5 separate regions of the Homo sapiens genome follow, and all the other regions are linked to region 3. The links are contacts of gene promoters, found by promoter capture Hi-C in human tissues and cell types (Jung and others, 2019). All regions are on one chromosome and are shown on one strand. Each heading gives the region's core, a stretch centred on a gene start or on the middle of the fragment in contact. The rest is flanking DNA. Distances are from core to core; before and after follow the strand shown.

Region 1 (3,683 bases), core at 1,166-3,665, 200 kb after region 3:
GAGATATAGACCAATGGAACCGAACAGAGCCCTCAGAAATAATGCCACATATCTACAACTATCTGATCTTTGACAAACCTGACAAAAACAAGAAATGGGGAAACGATTCCCTATTTAATAAATGGTGCTGGGAATACTGGCTAGCCATATGTAGAAAGCTGAAACTGGATCCCTTCCTTACACCTTATACAAAAATTAATTCAAGATGGATTAAAGACTTAAATGTTAGACCTAAAACCATAAAAACCCTAGAAGAAAAGCTAGGCAATACCATTCAGGACACAGGCATAGGCAAGGACTTCATGTCTAAAACACGAAAAGCAATGGCAACAAAAGCCAAAATTGACAAATAGGATCTAATTAAACTAAAGAGCTTCTGCACAGCAAAAGGAACTACCATCAGAGTGAACAGGCAACCTACAGAATGGGAGAACATTTTTGCAATCTACTCATCTGACAAAGGGCTAATAACCAGAATCTACAATGAACTCAAACAAATTTACAAGAAAAAAACAAACAACCCCATCAAAAAGTGGGCAAAGGATATGAACAGACACTTCTCAAAAGAAGACATTTATGCAGCCAACAGACACATGAAAAAATGCTCATCATCACTGGCCATCAGAGAAATGCAAATCAAAACCACAATGAGATACCATCTCACACCAGTTAGAATGGCGATCATTAGAAAGTCAGGAAACAACAGGTGCTGGAGAGGATGTGGAGAAATAGGAACACTTTTACACTGTTGGTGGGAATGTAAACTAGTTCAACCATTGTGGAAGTCAGTGTGGCGATTCCTCAGGGATCTAGAACTAGAAATACCATTTGACCCAGCCATCCCATTACTGGGTATATACCCAAAGGATTATAAATCATGCTGCTATAGAGACACATGCACACATATGTTTATTGTGGCACTATTCACAATAGGAAAGACTTGGAACCAACCCAAATGTCCAACAATGATAGACTGGATTAAGAAAATGTGGCACATATACACCATGGAATACTATGCAGCCATAAAAATGATGAGTTCATGTCCTTTGTAGGGACATGGATGAAGCTGGAAACCATCATTCTCAGCAGACTATCGCAAGGACAAAAAACCAAACACCGCATGTTCTCACTCATAGGTGGGAATTGAACAATGAGAACACATGGACACAGGAAGGGGAACATCACACACTGGGGCCTGTTGTGGGGTGAGGGGAGGGGGGAGGGATAGCATTTGGAGATATACCTAATGTTAAATGACGAGTTACTGGGTGCAGCACACCAACATGGCACTGTATACATATGTAACTAACCTGCACGTTGTGCACATGTACCCTAAAACTTAAAGTATAATAAAAATAAATAAATAAATAAATATCGGATAGAAAAGCCAGGCTTTGGGCTTCTGTGAGTACGGTGTATCCGGACATGTCCCTTACAGGGACACTGGAAGCTCTGTCTATAGAGTTGTTGTAAAAAATTTTAGTCTCCTTTAGGGGCTAAAGCTGGCTCTGCAAATGTGTCTCACTCCCTTGTCCTAGACCTGTCACTTGGAGGACCAAACAGAATAACTGGTCAGCTATGTGGACCGAGACATACAATAGTGGGAGAATTATTTCCATTAATGCTAGATGCTTCCCTACTGGCAAATTGTGTTTCCTGTACTCTGTCCTTCTCAGTAAACCTCTTGTCAGGTGTGGCCTATGAGAGCCAAGGGAGTCTGAATGCTTATTACTTCTAAAAAGACCCCTTGTGGGCACTGCACAGGTGCTATGTTTCGTACTTTACAGGTATTATCACATTTAGTCCTTGAAACGACTCTATGAAAAAGGTAGTAGTAGTAGTAGCAGCAGCAGCAGTAGTAGTAGTAGCAGTGATCCCATTAAGATGAGAAAATAGACTCAGATGTTAAATAATTTACTCTGAGTCACACGGCAAGGATGTGATGATACCATTTACTATGGAACCCATTAAAGTGTGTACCCTAGTTCTGTGATGACCATGTTTTAAGATATAGTGTAAACTCACGGTGAAACCCCGTCTCTACTAAAAATACAAAAAAATTAGCTGGGTGTGGTGGTGGGCGCCTGTAGTCCCAGCTACTCGGGAGGCTGAGGCAGGAGAATGGCTTGAACCCAGGAGGTAGAGCTTGCAGTGAGCCGAGATCATGCCACTGCACTCCAGCCTGGGTGACAGAGCGAGACTCCATCTCAAAAAACAAAACAAAAAAAAGATATAGTGCAAACTGTATCTTATAGATGTAGTTTATCTTAAAAGCTTTTAAAAAATTGACATATAATTCACATACAACAAAATTCACCTTTTTAAAGTATACAATTCAGTGGTGACAAGGTTGTTCAACCATTACTCTGCTTGAATTCCAAAACATTTTCCTACCCCAAAAAGAAACTCTGTATCCATTAGCTGTCACTCCCCATTTCTCCCCACTTCCAACAACAATTAATCTATTTTTGTCTCTATGGAGTTCCTTTTTGGGATATTTAGTACAAATGGAATCAAATAATATGTGGCCTTATGTTTCTCACTTCTTTCACTTATCAAAACATTTTTAGGGTTCATTCAAGTTGTAGCAGGTGTCAGTACTTCATTCCTTTTTATCGCCGAATAGTATTTTGTTACATATAAACTAAAAGTAAGCTTTTATCTTGCAGAACGAAAAGCTGTTTTCCCCCTAAATTGTAATAGTACTTATCAAATACAAAGTTTTTGTTTAATAAATGACAAGATGACAACCTGACACTCCCATAAAGAAGTGCTAAACATTCTAATAATGCTGTGTTTGCAGGTGTGAAGAGCTAAAAGCAGGCTCCATGGCTACAATTTTGATATTAAGAACCAAAAACTGGGCCAGGTGCGGTGGCTCACACCTGTAATCTTAGCACTTTGGGAGGCTGAGGCGGCCAGATATCTTGAGCCCTGGAGTTCGAGACCACCCTGGGCAACATGGTGAAACCTCATCTCTAAAAAAAAAGTACAAAAATCAGCCAGGTGTGGTGGCAAGCACCTGTAGTCCCAACTACTTGGGAGGCTGGGGTGGAAGGATCACTTGAGCCCAAGAGGTTGAGGCCACAGTGAGCCGTGTTCATGCCACTGCACTCTAGCAGGGGTGACAGAGCAGAGAAAAATTCTGTCTCAAAAAAAAAAAAAAAAGGAAGAAGTTAAAAGTATAGTCTCTGAGTATGACAGAGACACAATAATAAACTTGCTAATAACTTGAATATAAGAATACAAATAAAAGTAACCTGGGCCAACACATCGAAGTCCTACAAATGATTAGGTTCTCTAACCCAGTAATAATGCCCTAGAAATTTATCCTAAGAAAAAAATTTAAAAAGTTAATTTTTACTGTAGACTTAAGGGTAATGTCCAAACCCAGTTGTATAATTAAAGAAAGCAGAATGGAAAATTCACAAAATAATAAAAAATAATAAACATAAAGGTTATGTAGAAACATGAACAATTAATTAGGAAATTGGGAGAATGAGGATAAAAGGAGCAAGATAAAAGGAGTAAGAGAATTAAGTAGTCTACTATGGTGAAGGCATTTACATGTATTTTTCTATAAACCTGTTTCAATATTAAGCTTTGTTTTAAAAGCATTGTACAGGATTTGGAATTAGGAAGTAGTAGTATATTCAAGTTCCCACTCTGTTATTTACTACCTA
Region 2 (3,795 bases), core at 977-3,476, 180 kb after region 3:
GATGGCAAAAATGTTCTATATCTGCACTGTCCAACATGGTAGACACTAGTCACATGTGGCCTTTAAGCATTTGAAATATGGCTACTGGGACTGAGAAACAGAATTTTAAAATGCATTTATTTTTAGTTACTTTCAGTATTCACAAGTACCAGTGGTAAAGGCACAAATATGAATAATTAAAGGGCAGGCTGCAGACAGATTTGAGAATCATATGGTATTTATGGGAACTGAGTCAAATGATTACTCTCTCCAAGAAAGAGGGCATTAAAAAAAAAAGGATATAAAGCAAGAGAAGCAGAGATTTAACAGAATTAAAGCAGAATTAAGCAGAATTTAATAGAATTGAAGACTTCCATGCTAATTAATTAAGTAAACAGACATTAGGTGAATCAGAGGTACAAGAGCTAGAGACGACAGAGAAACCAGAAGAGCCACAACTCAAAATAAAAAAGATGAGTTATATACGCCTACATATGAATGAGGAAGATTTTTGGAATTAATGCTTAGCCAGAAAAACCGAAAAAGAACTTGGCTTTCTGTTCCTGGCTTATTTCACTTAACATAATGTCCTCTAGGGTCATCCATGTTATTGCAAATGACAGGATTTCAATCTTCTTTATGGCTGAATAATATTTCATTGTGTATATATACTACATTTTCTTTATCCATTTATCCACTGACGGACATTTAGGTTGATTCCACATCTTAGCTATTGTGAATAGTGCTATAAGACATCTCTTCAACATACTGATTTCCATTCATTTGGATATATATCCAGCAGTAGAGAGTAGATTGGTGGTTACCAGAGGTTGGGAAGGATAGGAAGGTGGGGCCAATGAGAGGTTGGTTAATGGGTATAAAATTACAGTCAGATAGAAGGAATACATTCTACTGTTTAATAGCACAGCAGGGTGACTATAGTTAACAATAATTTATGGTATATTCTAAAACAGGTAGGAGAGAAGATTTGGAAATGTTCTCAACACTCCATGATATATAATAAATATTTGAGATGATGGATATCTCAATTACCCCCATTTGATCCTTACACATTGTACGCATGCATCAAAATATCACACATACACTATAAATATATAGTTATTATGTATCAATTTTAGAAAGGATTTGTATATTAATGTTTTTCTCTTCATTTGATCAAAAAAAGTCTGCAAAAGATAAGTCAAATTATATTTTCTAGATTTCTGCCATACAGAAAGATGTTTATCTTTTATTACTTCACCAAATTATCAACTAGTCAATGTATGTTTGGCTTCCACTGAAGAAATATTTGTCTAGAAATAAATCCTATTAAGAATTACTAAGCTTTTAAAAAATCTTCCATTAAATTGACGTTTGTTCTCTTTTCTACTATGACACACTGTATCTCATTCTTCCTCATCCAAACCACAAAGAAAATATTTCACAAGCTTCTAAAAAATGTTAGTTCATATATTGCACAAGAACATGCTATGAAAAAGGAACATGTGAGGAACAAATTATCTCACCACAAACCAGCTGAGTTGATTTCTGTAGATTTGATGAAATCAGTTATCTGATTTCCAGGGTCTAGCAATAGTTTTTTGTTTGTTTGTTTTAGTTTAGAGTTTAAAGAAATCTGCCTAATAATATACAGACAGAGAAAGATATATTCAGTATCTGCTCTAGTAACTACTGGCATAAGAAATAAATAGTATTTCTTGGGGAATCTGTCCAAATACTTGTATTTAGATATCAACATGAACTTATTCTTTTTATTTCCTTTTTTTAAGAGATGAGGTCTCACTTTGTCACCCAGGCTGGAGTGCTGTGGCAGGATCATAGCTCACTGTAGCCTTCAATTCCTGGGCTCAAGTTATCTTCCCACTTCAGCCTCCTGAGTAGCTGGGACTACAAGCACGTGCTAATTTTTAAATTTTTTTGTAGAGACAAAGTCTCACTATGCTGCCCAGGCTGGTCTCAAACGCTTGGACTCAAGTGATCCTCCCACCCCCGCCTTCCAAAGTGCTGGGATGACAGGTGTAAGCCACTGTGCCAGGCCTGATCTTATTCTTCAGAATAATTAGGCTGGGGAAAAGAAAACTGGAGGAATCACATTACCTAACTTCAAATTATACTACAGAGCTATAGTAACCAAAACAGTATGGTACTGGCATAAAAATAGACTCACAGACCAATGGAACAGAAGACAGAACCCAGAATCAAATCCATACATCTACAGTGAACTCATTTTCAACAATGGTGCTAAGAACATACACTGGGGGAAAAGTGCTGGGAAAACTGGACATCCATATGCAGAAGAATGAAACTAGACCCCTATCTCTCACCATATACAAAAATCAAATCAGAATGAATTAAAGACTTAAATCTAAGACCTCAAACTATGAAACTTTTTTTTTTTTTTTGAGACAGAGTCTTGCTCTGTTGCCCAGGCTGGAGTGCAGTGGCATGATCTCGGCACACTGTGACCTCCACTTCCCGGTTCAAGCGATTCTCCTGCCTCAGCCTCCTGAGTAGCTGGGACTACAGGTGCCCACCACCACACCTGGCTAATTTTTGTATTTTTAGTAGAGACAGCATTTCACCATATTGGCCAGGTGGTCTTGAACTCCTGACCTTGTGATCCACCTGCCTTGGCCTCCCAAAGCGCTGGGATTACAGGTGTGAGCCACTACACCCAGCCCAAAACTATTAAAATAAAGCATTGGGGGAAATTCTCTAAGACACTGGACTGGGCAAAGATTTCTTGAGTAATACCCTGTAAGCACAGGCAATCAAAGCAAAAATGGACAAATGGGATCACATCAAGTTAAAAAACTTCTGCACAGCAAAGTAAACAATCAACAAAGTGCAGAGACAGCCCATGGAATGGTAAAAAATATTTGTAAATTATCCAGTTGACAAGGGATTAATAACCAGAATATATAAGGAGCTCAAACAACTCTATAGGAAAAAAAAATCTAATAATCTGATTTTTAAAATGAGCAAAAGCATCATCACTGGCCATCAGAGAAATGCAAATCAAAACTACAATGAGATACCATCTCACACCAGTTAGAATTTTAGTATATGTGCTGCCGAAGCGAGCACGCTCTCACACCAGTTAGAATGGCAATCACTAAAAAGTCAGGAAACAACAGGTGCTGGAGAGGATGTGAAGAAACAGGAACACTTTTACACTGTTGGTGGGACTGTAAACTAGTTCAACCATTGGGGCGATTCCTCAAGGATCTAGAACTAGAAATACCATTTGACCGAGCAATCCCATTACTGGGTATATACCCAAAGGATTATAAATCATGCTGCTCTGAAGACACATGCACATATATGTTTACTGCAGCACTATTCAAAATAGCAAAGACTTGGAACCAACCCAAATGCCCATCAATGATAGACTGGATTAAGAAAATGTGGCATATACACCATGGAATACTATGCAGTCATAAAAAAGGATGAGTTCATGTCCTTTGTAGGGACATGGATGAAGCTGGAAACCACCATTCTGAGCAAACTACAGCAAGGACAGAAAACCAAACACCACATGTTCTCACTCATAGGTGGGAATTGAACAATGAGAACACTTGGACACAGGGTGGGGAACATCACACACTGGGGCCTGTCATGGGGTGGGGGGAGCGGGGAGGGATAGCGTTAGGAGATATACCTAATGTAAATGACGAGTTAATGGGTACAGCACACCACATGGCACATGTATACATATGTAACAAACCTGCACATTGTGCACATGTACCCCAGAACTTAAAGTATAATAAAAAAAGAAAAATAAATAAATACATA
Region 3 (4,019 bases), core at 1,249-3,748:
AAAAATTAGCCAGGCATGGTAGTGGGCACCTGTAATCCCAGCTACTTGGCAGGCTGAGGCAGGAGAATTGCTTAAACCCAGGAGGCGGAGGTTGCAGTGAGCCAAGATCGCACCCTTGCACTCCAGCCTGGGCAACAAGAGTGAAATTCCGTCTCAAAAAAAAAAAAAGAGGTCCTTTTCCTTCTTTAGCCTCAGTTTCTCTGGCTGAAAAACAGAAATGATAAGTGAAGGCCCAGATAATTAAATGCTTGGAGGTGAATCCAAGATCCACCTCCAGATAATTCCATTGAATTATCTTGGATACCTTTTTGTTGTTGTGTTTTGTTTTGTTTTGTTTTGTTTTGAGACGGAGTTTCGTTCTTGTTGCCCAGGCTGGAGTGCAATGGCACCATCTCGGCCCACGACAACCTCCGCCTCCTGGGTTCAAGCGATTCTTCTGCCTCAGCCTCCCGAGTAGCTGGGACTACCGGCATACACCACCACACCTGGCTAATTTTTTTTTTTTTTTTTTTTTTTTTTGAGACAGAGTCTTACTCTGTCAGCCAGGCTGGAGTACAGTGGCGCCATCTCGGCTCACCGCAAGCTCCGTCTCCCGGGTTCACGCCATTCTCCTGCCCCAGCCTCCCGAGTAGCTGGGACTACAGGTGCCCGCCACAACGCCCGGTTAATTTTTTTTTTTGTATTTTTAGTAGAGATGGAGTTTCTCCACTTTGGTCAGGCTGATCTCAACCCCCAACCTCAGGTGATCCGCTCGCCTCAGCCTCCCAAAGTGCTGAGATTACAGGCGTGAGCCACCGTGCCTGGCCTATCTGGGATATCTTGAAGGATCTTGGATTTCTATTTCTACATATACCTGCCTTTCATGACTTGCCTGGGGAGGCCCAATCTGTAATGAGACCTCAGGGTCTCCCAGCCCTTCCCCCAACCTACCCCCAAAACCTCTAAGAGCACTCTAGAGAGAATCAGCTGCATACAGCCCAGCTCCACCGCTCCAAGGGTCAGAGAAAAGTCCCCTTCCCTGGGGTTAGCTGCATGATCCTGCAGGTGCCATGGTGTGCCTAGGTGCCACCTCGCTTCACCTGGCTGGGGAGTGGCTCCTAGACCTCAGCTCAATGCGCATCACTTCCCCTTCTCATCAGCCAGGCCAGCCCAGGTATCACCTCCAGCTCCACTGCCCCCAGATGGAGTTACCTGAGTACCCAATTCCTCCCAAGCTCAGAAACAGTGTCCACTGCCTTCCCACTCCTTTCCATTCAGAGTCTGTCCCCTTAGTGCTGCCCCCTCATCTGTCACACCTGGGTTCTTTCCCTTACTTGGGCCACTGACCTGAGAAGCAGGGTCTGTACAGCTCCAGCAACACTCTCCTCTTCCTCCAGAATTCTCCAGATCCTCCTCAGCTTCTTGGCTCTGGTGCTCATCTCAACACAGCAGGGTCTTCCTCCATCAGGCCAAGGTGGGGGTAGGAGAAGAATTGGGAACAGGGACTCCCCTAGGTTCTCAGGGTACAGTCAGTCAATCTAAGCCTGTATCCAACAAAGACACTGACCCCTGGGGTACAAGGAAGGGCTCCAGGCCCAAAGGCAGGAGGATTAGGCTTTAGCTCTTGCTCACAGCCTGCTGAGACCTGGGGCAAGCCCCTGTCCCTCTTTGGGCCCTCAGGTTTGCAATTTGCAGAATGAGGAAATGGGTTCCTCAATCTACAATCACCTGACTATAATAATATTTTGCCTTTATATACCGCGTGGGTAAATTCCTGAAAGTAAACTAAGCTGTTTTCACCCCTGGATCTCATTTGATCCTCCCAACAGCCTGTTTGCATTTACAAATGAGAAAGCTCAGTTCCCTAAGGGAACAAAATTACCCAAAGTCACACAGCAAGCTGGAAGCAGAGCCTGGGTGCAGTCCTTGAATCCTGATCCTTCCCTGGTCCTTTACTCTCTATGATGCTGGAAATCTGCCTGACTTCCTCTAACCTGTTGTCCCATTTGTAAAAGGACTGTTGTGAGGACTGAATTAGGAGAGGCGATGAAGAGGGTCATTCCTTGTGAATCATAAAAGAAAGGACCACAGAACGATGACTGGACCGTTAGGTTACTATTTATTACGGTTATCTTCGCTCAGGCGCCCCCACGTGTCGATCCCGAGACTCTCGGCTTGCGCAGGCGCTCTTTGGTGTTTACAGCGGCCGCGAAGCCCCGCGTTTGCGCGTGCGCTTCCCGCCCGGGACCGCCCAGAGGTCCCGGACTAGGGGCGGACTAGGGGCCGCTCTGCCTCCCGCCCCCTAGTGGTTGTGGCCGCTCTGTCACCACGGCTCCCGGGGCCTCTGTCGGCTCCACTTTGGTTGAGACGTCTCCACAGCCCAACAACGGCGGCGATCTGAGGAGAGGCAGGAGAAAATACGGCGCGCTCGGCATCGTCCTTCTGACCGGGGACTCCAGCATCTCAGTCATCGCGTCACCAAGCCCCACGTGCAGGTTCTGGCATCCATCATGGCAAACTGGAGACCGCGGTGAATTCCACCGGAATGGCGCGCGCATTGCCACATGGGAACTGTAGTTCTTGGCTAGGACCTTTCTGGGGCTGGGCCGCTGGAAAAACTACATTTCTCAGGAGCTCAAGAGTCAGGCTGACAGAAAGGGGGCCCGCGGCATGTTGGGAGATGGAGTTTGGGGGGTTCGTGCTAGCAGGGAAACAGTGAAGCAATGGAGCCAAGTGTTCTGAGCCTGGGCCTGTGGGTTTGAGTTGGGCAGGAGTTACACAGTAGCTCTTATAAGAGAGGAGTAGCATTGTTGCGGCTTTTAGAAAGAATGCTACTTATTAGTTGTGTGATCTGAGCGATCAAGACAAATGCCCCTTTATCTTTTTTATTTATTTATTTTTTGAGACAGGGTCTCTGTCTGTCAGGCTGGAGTGCAGTGGCCCCAGAACTGCTGGCCTCCCGCCTCACCCTCCCAAAGTGCTGGGATTATAGGCGTGAGCCATCAGGCCTGGCCAGATGCCTTTTTATCAACTACGATGGACCTTAAGGTTAAGGTTAAGGAAACAAACGTTGCCTACCTCAGGGCTCAGCTGTCAGCTGGCATGGCAACTTCTTAAATTTCTACTGCTGCCAGAAAAACCACACTCTTACTAAACCCCTAGCAATAGGAGCTATCATGCAAATTGTCAGACTCTTCTTTACTGAGATTTACAACTCAGACCACTACAACGCTGATCGACAGAGGACAGGCCTTACAAACATTCTTTCCTGATAAGTAACTGCAGACCTCAGGCCAGTTTCAGCAAGCTCATAGAGACTGCACGCAAACTGTGTTTGTGTCCTATAGTCCACCTTATGATGCAAAGAACCAAATTCCACCTCACTTTAACGCAAAAACCCCATCCCAAAGTGAACATGGAACATATGTTACAGGTGTTTACCCATTGTGCATGCACTCACATCCCCTCATAAATATGTATAGCTTTTCCCCAAAACCTGCTGAATATGTATGATTATTGTGAAATACAGACCCTGTGAGTCATAAACCAGCCTAGGCCGGGAGTGGTGGCTCACGCCTGTAATCCCAGCACTTTGGGAGGCCAAGACGGGCGGATCACGAGGTCAGAAGATTGAGACCATCCTGGCTAACATGGTGAAACCCCGTCTCTACTAAAAATACAAAAAAATTAGCTGGGTGTGGTGGCGGGCGCCTGTAGTCCCAGCTACTCGGGAGGCTGAGGCAGGAGAATGGCATGAACCTGGGAGGTGGAGGTTGCAGTGAGCCGAGATCGCACCACTGCATTCCAGCCTGGGCGACTGAGCGAGACTCCGTCTCAAAAAACAAAAACAAAAAACAACCAGCCTGCCTTTTCCCTATACAAAGAGAGAGCACCTTTGGTACCTACAGGAGAGTGTCTCTTTTCAGTTTGCAAACTGATGTCGCTAATGAAACTGCCCTCTACTATTTAGGCATCCTGGTGTTCTAGAGGGTAGCAGTCTGCACCTCTCACAGGGCTTCCTCTTCCATCACTCCTCAGAG
Region 4 (4,108 bases), core at 1,447-3,946, 130 kb after region 3:
GTGTCTCCAGTCCAACTTATTCTTGGAAAAAAACATTTCAAAGAATTTTGCTAGAAGATAACCTCTCTGATAAAATTAGAATAAATGTCGTTGGATTAAAAATACAATTTATAATAAAATTAGAATAAATGTCGTTGGATTAAAAATACAATTTATAATAAAATTAGAAATAAAAATGTCACCCTACCACATATTCCAACTGAATGGAAACTGAAAAACTCATTTCTAAATAATCATGGGTTAATAAGGAGAAAAAAATAGATATAAAACAAAAGCCCTACATATCACAGAATGCAGTTCAAGCAGAAAGACACTTTTTTAAAAGCTTTAAACAAATTTACTTAAAAACAAGAAAGACTGAAAATATAGGATCTAAATAGAAAAAGAAGCTTGAGAAAGAACAATAACATAAACTGTAAGACAGTAGAAATAATGAATATAAAGGCAAAAATTAAGGAAATAGACACAACACTGAGAAGCAGAATAAAGGTCATTTTATCTGGTTCTTGGCAAAGATTAATAAAATAGACTGGCAAGTCTGGTCAAAATAAGACAGAGGGCACACACAATATTAAAAACAAAAACAGAGACAATTCTAGAAGCAAACAAGTTTATGACATCAAATCTGATAAATGAAATGGACAACTGCCTAGGAAAATTGGACATTTTAATGAAATGGACAATTGTCCAGGAAAATGTAAGTTACCCAAATATACTGAAAAAGAGACAGAAAATCTAAATGGACAAATAAACATAAAAAATTTGATCACGGCTGGGCATGGTGGCTCATGCCTGTAATCCCAGCACTTTGAGAGGCAAGGCGGGTGGACCACTTGAGGCCAGGACTTCAAGACCAGCCTGATCAACATGTTGAAACCTTGTCTCTACTAAAAATAACAACAACAACAACAAAATTGTTCACTCAAAAATCAACCACTTCATAGAAGGAACAAAGATAAGATTTTTTCATAGACTTTTCCCCCAACATTCTTTTCTGAAAAATTCAAATATATATACATTAAAATCAAACAAATTATACAGTAAATACTTATATACATACTACATAGATTCCTCAATTAATGTTTTACTACATTTTCCTTTTCTCTTAGATTTTGGGGGATGACAATATAGGAAAACAGATACATGACAGGACTTCAAAGCACCAGGCTAGTGATTTTTGTATTTCCGTATCAACCTAGCATTTTTAACACTTTTATAAACACAGAATTGAGAGCTCTGGTACAGTGAAAACAAGAATATATATACAAGAGGCATTCAGGATGAAGAGTCTGTGCTTTTCTTTCCTGTCTTTGGACACTGTCATGTGAAAATGGATATCCTGATCCCTCTCCTAAAAGTATTAGCCAGTTCTCACTCTCCCTGACAAAAAAAAAAAATTGAACTGGATCTTTTAAAGTAGCAGTTATGAAATGCGTATTTTTAAAAAATGCATTCCTTTAGTCAGGAAACATTTATTGTGAATTTAATTTATCAGATAAAAAACATTTGCCAACCACAGGAACAATTTATCTTCCAAAGGATAGTTTCACGACTGCAAAACATTTTAATCTATCAAATCTTGAAGAAAAGTCATTGCATTTATTTTCTCTGCATACAATGTGACATGTCAGCAAACCTGATGGATCTCAACACTTTTAAATGAAACGACTGCTGTCAAAGAATGACAGCATATAGATAGTAGGGCTTAATTTGAAAAAAACCCAAGACACTGTTGTTTTTATATCAATTACAAAACGCTCCTTTTCCCTTCGTGCTCTTTTAGTACTCTTTGTACTGACACATGACCTGTTGTTTCCCCCATGTGAGCAGAGTGCATTTAAACTCTGAGTAGAATACAAAACTGTTTAAACCCTTCTCAAAGGCAATGCACATGGCAATGGGCCAATGTTCTAAGCTACCTTGTATCAGCACCTCTCTTTTTGCCCTTGGTGCCATCTTCAACTCATCAACAAGGAGAACAGAATCTCCTCCAACTTTGTTAGAAGGAATGCTGTTACCAGGAAATTTGTTCGTTAATGCATTCTTCTAATATCACTAGTACCTTCATTTTCTTTGTATGCAGAAATACTTTAGCTTCTAAGTTGGATAACACTACACGTTGCACTAAAGGTAACTTACCTTGCTGGAGTTTTCTAATAAAAACTGGAATGTGTTCTGCACAGCTTGGCATGTTTCTAGCTCAGTCCGGCTGAAGGCTATTAAATAATCCTTGAGATGATCATACACATTTCCATCAAGAGCCTGTAATAGAGGAGTAAATAAAAGAAAAAAAATTACAGTAAAGCCTTGACATATGATATCTTCTGCCTATGAGAAAAGTAGGTATGTTCAGTTTAAAATTTATTATTAATAATAAATGGACAAAAGATACAGATTGTAAGTAAATATGAACAGTTAACAATCACTTGAGAAAATGTTGAATCTCTCTAATAAACAGGAACTAAAAGAGGTAAGATCCAATATTGGTAAAGCTGTGGGAAAACAGGACACAACTTAGAGACAAAATGCGTGGGTTCTGATCTTTGCTCATCTGCTTAGGTGTAGGAGTTAAGTGAAATAATAAACGTGAAAGGATGCAGGTGCAGTGCCTGGAAAAGAGTAGACACTCTACAATAATCTCCGTTTTCCCCCAATCCATTATTGGTAGGATTATACATTGGTATATGTATATTTACTGAACAGCAGTGACAGAAAAAACACAATAGAAATATTAAAAAAAGAAAAGTGACTCAGAGATACTGCTTTGGGGAAGAAAACCCAGTGTAATATCTATGAAGGGTTGGAAACATTCTTATTTCCTTAAACATTTTGTAACAGGGATCTTTGAAATAAAAAAAAAGGAGAGAAAATCACTGAACATTTGAGGAATGATTAAGCTATGATGTGTACTGTCACCAAAATAAAAACCGTGGAAACTGTATAGATGACAAGTATGTATCAAATAATTTTAGGTTAAAAAAACAGAATATACATATGACATATACACTAGCAATAACTATGGAAAAATATAATAATAATAATTAATAATAATCAAGGTTCTGAAGTCTTGCCAATCAGTAGAGGTAAAAATTGAGGTAAAATTCACCCAATATAAGTCACCATTTTAATAATTTTAAAGTGTACAACTCAGTGGCTTTTAGTACACTGACAAAGTTGTTTAACAATTTCCATTATCTAATTCCAGAACATTTCCACCACTTCTCCAAAAACACTGTACCTGTTAAGTGGTCATTCTCCATCCCTTCCTTCCCCCAGCCCCTGGCAACCACTAGTCTGCTTTCTACCTCTATGGATTTGCCTACTCTGGATATTTCATATAAATCAAATCATATAATATATGACTTTTGGTGCCTGGCTTCTGTTGCCCAGCATAATATTTTCAAGGCTCATTGATTTATCAGTACTTCATTCCTTTTTACAGCTTAATAATATTCAGTTGTACCACATTTTGTTTATTAATCAGGTGATATAAATTTGCCTTTTCCCCATTTTTTGACTATTATAAATAATGCTGCAAAGTTAAAAAATAAATAAATAATGCTGCTATGAACATTTGTGTACAAGGTTTTGTTTGAGCACCTGTTTCCATTTCTCTTGGGAATATACCCAGGAATGGAATTGCTCGGTCATATGATAACTCTATGTTTAATTTTGAGGAACTGTCAAACTGTTTTCCAGTGACTGCAACATTTTACCTTTCTACTAGCAATGTATGAGGGTTCAAATTCTCCACACCCTTGCCAACACTTATTCTTTTGTATTTTGGTATTTTTTTTTTAAATTATGAAAGCCATATTAGTGATTAGGAACGGTATATCTTTGTAGTTTTGATTTGCATTTCTCTAATGACTATGTTGAGCAACTTTTCATGTGCTTATTTGGCCATTTGTATATCTTCTTTGGTGAAAAGCCTACTCAAGTCCTTAACTCATTTTTAAATTAGGTTGTCAGGTTGGGTGTGGTGGGTCACGCCTGTAATCCCAGCACTTTGAGAGGCTGAGGTGGGCGGATCAAGAGATCAGGAGTTCGAGACCAGCCTGGCCAAAATGGTGAAACCCCGTCTCTACTAAAAATACAAAAATTAGCT
Region 5 (4,100 bases), core at 53-2,552, 140 kb before region 3:
TCTGCCAAAGGCAGCCACCCAGAGCCCTGCCCTGTACCACCAGACAGCTGCAGCCCTGAGGCTGCCCGGCTTTCCTCCACCTGCTATTCCTGGGCTGGCCCCACTCCAGGGGTGCCTCAGGTTAGAGTCAGTCCCTGACCCCTGACCCCAGTCCCCACTACACACACACACACACACACACACACACACACACACACACACACACACACATACACAAAGGCTACTAAGAGCTGAGCCCATCAGAGATACCAAGGCAAGAAGGTCTAAGCAACAGGGACCAAGGCCCCATACTCTGAACACTCCCTGCTAACTCAGAAACCATCACACAGGGAGGCCCCAGTCTATGGCTTCAAGGCTCCAAGAACTCCCAGAGCTTCATGTTCTTAGAAAATCAAAGCTTCTGTTATAACACCCCATCATTCAAAAAGTCTGTTTTTCTTACATTCTGTGAATGCGAGAACCTGGGGTCTTGAGAATGTAGAAGCCCAAGATTCTAACATTCTAATGTCCTGACTGCCTGAGATGCCTGATTGCAGGACTCTAAGACTCCAGCACCTGGTTTCTATGCCCCTGAGAGCCTAATGGTCAGTGGGCTTGAGTCTCTGTGATGCCAGGTAAAGGGGAGGGCACAGCAGCAAGCACCTGTGTCTGCCTGCAGTTGGGGATACCAAGGACTGGGATTGGGAGAGCCCAAGGAAATGAACACCCACTCCCAAGGGGTGTCAAGGGAGTGATGGGTGTCCTGGAAGGGGCACGCAGGGAGAGGCCAGGGTCTGGGGGGGTGACTCGGTCTAACCACCATCTCCAACTCTCCAGCTGTGTCACCTTAGACAAGTGCCTCCTGGAGACCCCGTTTTCTCACTTCTAAACTGGGGATCAACTGGCCTTCCTTGAAAGGTGGCTGTGAATACATGAGAAGAGGCTCAAAAGTATTTAACAGAGAGCTTGGCACTCCCAACAGCTCAGAAAAGGATGTTGCTTGTTGTCCTTATGCCCCAGCAGGCCTCAGCATCCTCTGGCAGTGCCAGTGCCCATGGCTTGGGATAAGGGATCTTTAACCCTTTCCTGGCTGCCCAAGTGACATGAAACTCTGTCCTCAGGCCCCCGCCCAAGTCTATCTCATCTCCTTTCCTCCCTCCCCACCTTCCCTGGTGGCCTGAAGTCCTTAGTGCAGAAGACAGGCCTGAAAAGAGGGAAGAGCTGGGCCCTAGGACCAGGAAGCCCTCCTACTTCTGAGCCTGTTTCCTGATCTCTACGATGACAGAGTGGGGCCTTCCATGGACACTTGCTGGCCCCAGGATTCAGGCTGTGTGGCCATGGTGGCCTTGGTGGGCAGGCCTGGCAGGGAAAAGGAACCAGTGGGAGCCCCTCTCCTGGGACCAAGTGACAGGGCAGAAGTAGGGAGCAGCATGAGAATAAGCAAGGGGACCCCAATGTAGCTCCCTACCCAGCAGCCCCAAATGCTAGAGGAGAAATTAGTCAAGCCCATCCCTTTGCACCTGGCAAGAATATACCTCCCAGGAGACAGAGTCCCTTCTCCATGGGCCCATCAGCCTGCCTGTTGTGTTTTGTTTTTTTGAGATGGGGTCTCACTATGTTGCCCAGGCTGATCTGGAACTCCAGGGCTCAAGTGATCCTCCTGCCTCAGCCTCCCTAGTAGCTGGAATTACAGGTGCATGACATGGCACCCAGCTTGGCCTGGCTGCTTCTGGCAGAACCATTTCCAGATATGGCCCCTGGTCCTCCCTAAATACTCCAGCATATGTGAGGTGCATGCCAGCCTCCACCCCTTTGCTTACACCATTCCACAGGCCTGAAGAACCCTCCTTCTCCTCTCTGTCAATTAAATTTTAAACAACTTTAAAGGGGAAGGGAGGGGAATGGCCATTGATGACCACCTACTAAGTGCCAGATCTATTCTCTCATTTAATCTTCATGATATTATTAGCCCAATTTTACAGTTGATGAAACTGAGGCCCTGGGACCTGAGGTCATTCGTCCAAAGTCATGCAGCTAGAAATGATGGAACAGCAATTTCAACACAGCCCCTTCCAGCTCCCAAGCTTGTGCCTCTTGCAGCAGGCTGACTTGGGGAAAAGAGCCCAGGGCCTCCCCCAGTCCTTCCTTGGCTTCAGGGCTGTACTTGAGCAACTCCTCCCAGCCCAGCAGTCCCCCCAGCTCCAGAAGGCAGAGACCACAGTCCCCTCCTCTCTTGCCTCCTCAAGTTGGAGGCAACCTAGAGCCTGGCCACACTTCCTGATTGATCAAAAGGCACTCGCTCAATCGGCAAAGGCTCCTGTGGTGGGACTGGGAGATGTGGCATTCTGTTTCTAAGCACCCGTCGCTATGGAAGCCAGGTGCTGCCAGCCCAAGGCCTAGCAACAAGGCACGGTGCAGGGCGGAGGCCATTGTTTGGGGCTTCCGAGGCAGCCAGCAAGAGAGAGGGAGGGTGGACTCCATCTGTTCTCTGGGCTGGAGGGCTGGACCTGCTGCCTGGCTGGGCTCTCGAGGGGAAGAAGGAGGCAAAGAGGTCAAGACCAGTCAGGCCCTGAGAGACAGAGGCCCAGAGATAAGAGCAGAGAGAAGCATATAGAGAAAAACAAAGGGAGTTCAGAGACAGTGAAAGGCAGAGACACCATCAGACAGCAAGAGAGATTCGGGAAGGTGGAAAAAGATAAGAGCTGGCCAGAATCGCAGAGACTGCTTAGACAGAGACCAGAGGCAGGGGGGTCCTGATTCCCAGCGAGGCTCCACTCCCGACTCCCAGGGAGGGAGAGGGTGTGCCAGGGAGTGAGGCAGAGTCGCAGGGGAGTGACAGAGGTGGATAGAGGCATGACAGGAGGAGATAAGCCTGAGGCAGGAGGCAATATAGAGATAGTAATAAAGGAAGAGAGGAGAGGACTGGAGAGGGACAGGTGGTGACTCGGACGCGGAGACAGACAGCAGTGGGGCAAAACGGCAGCAATACCAGGTCAAGGGCACCGAGGCCACCAGAGTCCTGAGCTGGCCCCAGTCCTGGGCCCCTGCTCCTTAGTCTGCCCATCAGTGGCATGGGGGTCACCCCCCAGCCTCGCCTGTCCCCTAGAACACAGAATCATCTGGGCACAGAAGCTCAGAAGAGAGACTCTGGAGGTCAGAGGTCACATGTGTCTCTTACCCTCAAGGGGACAGGTCTTGCCCAAGATGGAACAATGAGGTAGTGCCTGAAATAACAGGAAGTCAGGGCTTGGAAATCCCAGTCCAGAGATCCTTGCCCACCTCCACCCCAAGTGACACCACTCCTAGTTGCCCATGGGGGCTCAGTTAGTGCAGAGAGGCACATTTGTCCCCATACCAGAGTGAATGAGGAGATTACAGAGCCTAAGATGGAACACCTCCATAGTGGGCAGAGCTCCAGCCCTGGGATGTTTACTTCCCTCTTTCCCAATAGCAGGCCCTGTGTCGGGGCCCTGAGGACCCACCAGTGACCGGTAGAACACAGCCGCCCACCCAGCGCTGGGACCAGGGGAGGCAGGTGCTAGAGAACCCAGAGCAGCCTAGCTGCTCGGCGTCAGGGAAGTGGCAGGCACTTGACGGGCAACATCTCATTTAACCCTCACCAGAGCCTGTCACGGATGAGAGGGCTGAGGAAAGTGATTTGCCCTAACCTCTGCCAGCCAGCAGGTGCCTGAACTGGGGCTCAATCCCAGCTCTCTTGAGGCCAGTGCAGGTGGGAGAGCCTGGGGGAGGCTCCTCCGCCGGGGAAGAAGCAGCCAAGAAGCAAGGTGACCAGGCCTGCTCAGGAGCCCCTCCCAGAGGGAGAGTGTGGGGTGGCCTGGGGTGGGTCCCCAGCCCTCCTCCGGCCACCACTGCTCCTAGCACCAGACATCTCTCCCCTCATCAGGATGGGTGACAGCATGCTCTCCTCCGCCCCAAGCTACCTGTCCTTGGGATTGCTAACACTGTTAGCTGCACCTGCCAGCCAGCCCTGGGAGCTCCTGTGCCCTCAGAGGCACCCAGCTGCTCTTGGTTTCTCCAGACTCTTACTGGAGGAACGAGACAAGATGAATTCAGCACCCACTATGTGCCCCTTTACATTTCTTAACTCATCGTTTTGTCTG

What was found. The method cuts DNA at HindIII sites, captures the fragments that hold promoters and counts their contacts. A contact is called where the count stands out against the background at its distance.
Region 1: a contact is called between a fragment that was not itself captured here and the fragment with the promoter of STARD10 in region 3, in 2 of the 25 tissues and cell types used here (hippocampus and pancreas).
Region 2: a contact is called between a fragment that was not itself captured here and the fragment with the promoter of STARD10 in region 3, in 4 of the 25 tissues and cell types used here (hippocampus, mesenchymal stem cells, small bowel and 1 more).
Region 4: a fragment that was not itself captured here is called in contact with the fragment with the promoter of STARD10 in region 3 in 2 of the 25 tissues and cell types used here (aorta and spleen).
Region 5: a contact is called between a fragment that was not itself captured here and the fragment with the promoter of STARD10 in region 3, in 6 of the 25 tissues and cell types used here (H1 embryonic stem cells, bladder, heart left ventricle and 3 more).

The regions. Positions count from the first base shown.
Region 1 is chr11:72,992,557-72,996,239 of GRCh38, forward strand. The region is part of intron 5 of FCHSD2 (FCH and double SH3 domains 2); the gene reads right to left. Among named protein-coding and RNA genes, the nearest start is that of FCHSD2, 150 kb to the right of the region's middle. The HindIII fragment of the contact is 3,610 bases long and covers 611-3,683 here.
Region 2 is chr11:72,974,542-72,978,336 of GRCh38, forward strand. All of the region lies in intron 8 of FCHSD2 (FCH and double SH3 domains 2), which reads right to left. Among named protein-coding and RNA genes, the nearest start is that of ATG16L2, 160 kb to the left of the region's middle. The HindIII fragment of the contact is 5,357 bases long and covers 1-3,795 here.
Region 3 is chr11:72,791,549-72,795,567 of GRCh38, forward strand. STARD10 (StAR related lipid transfer domain containing 10) reads right to left here and starts at 2,499. Exons shown (of 7, transcript NM_006645.3): 1 at 1,327-2,499. RefSeq lists enhancers at 624-1,123, 2,255-2,824. The HindIII fragment of the contact is 19,379 bases long and covers 1-4,019 here.
Region 4 is chr11:72,919,689-72,923,796 of GRCh38, forward strand. It overlaps FCHSD2 (FCH and double SH3 domains 2), which reads right to left. Exons shown (of 20, transcript NM_014824.3): 9 at 2,140-2,262. Among named protein-coding and RNA genes, the nearest start is that of ATG16L2, 110 kb to the left of the region's middle. The HindIII fragment of the contact is 9,036 bases long and covers 1-4,108 here.
Region 5 is chr11:72,650,718-72,654,817 of GRCh38, forward strand. The region is part of intron 1 of PDE2A (phosphodiesterase 2A); the gene reads right to left. Among named protein-coding and RNA genes, the nearest start is that of PDE2A-AS1, 8.0 kb to the right of the region's middle. RefSeq lists an enhancer at 2,047-2,592. The HindIII fragment of the contact is 5,548 bases long and covers 1-4,076 here.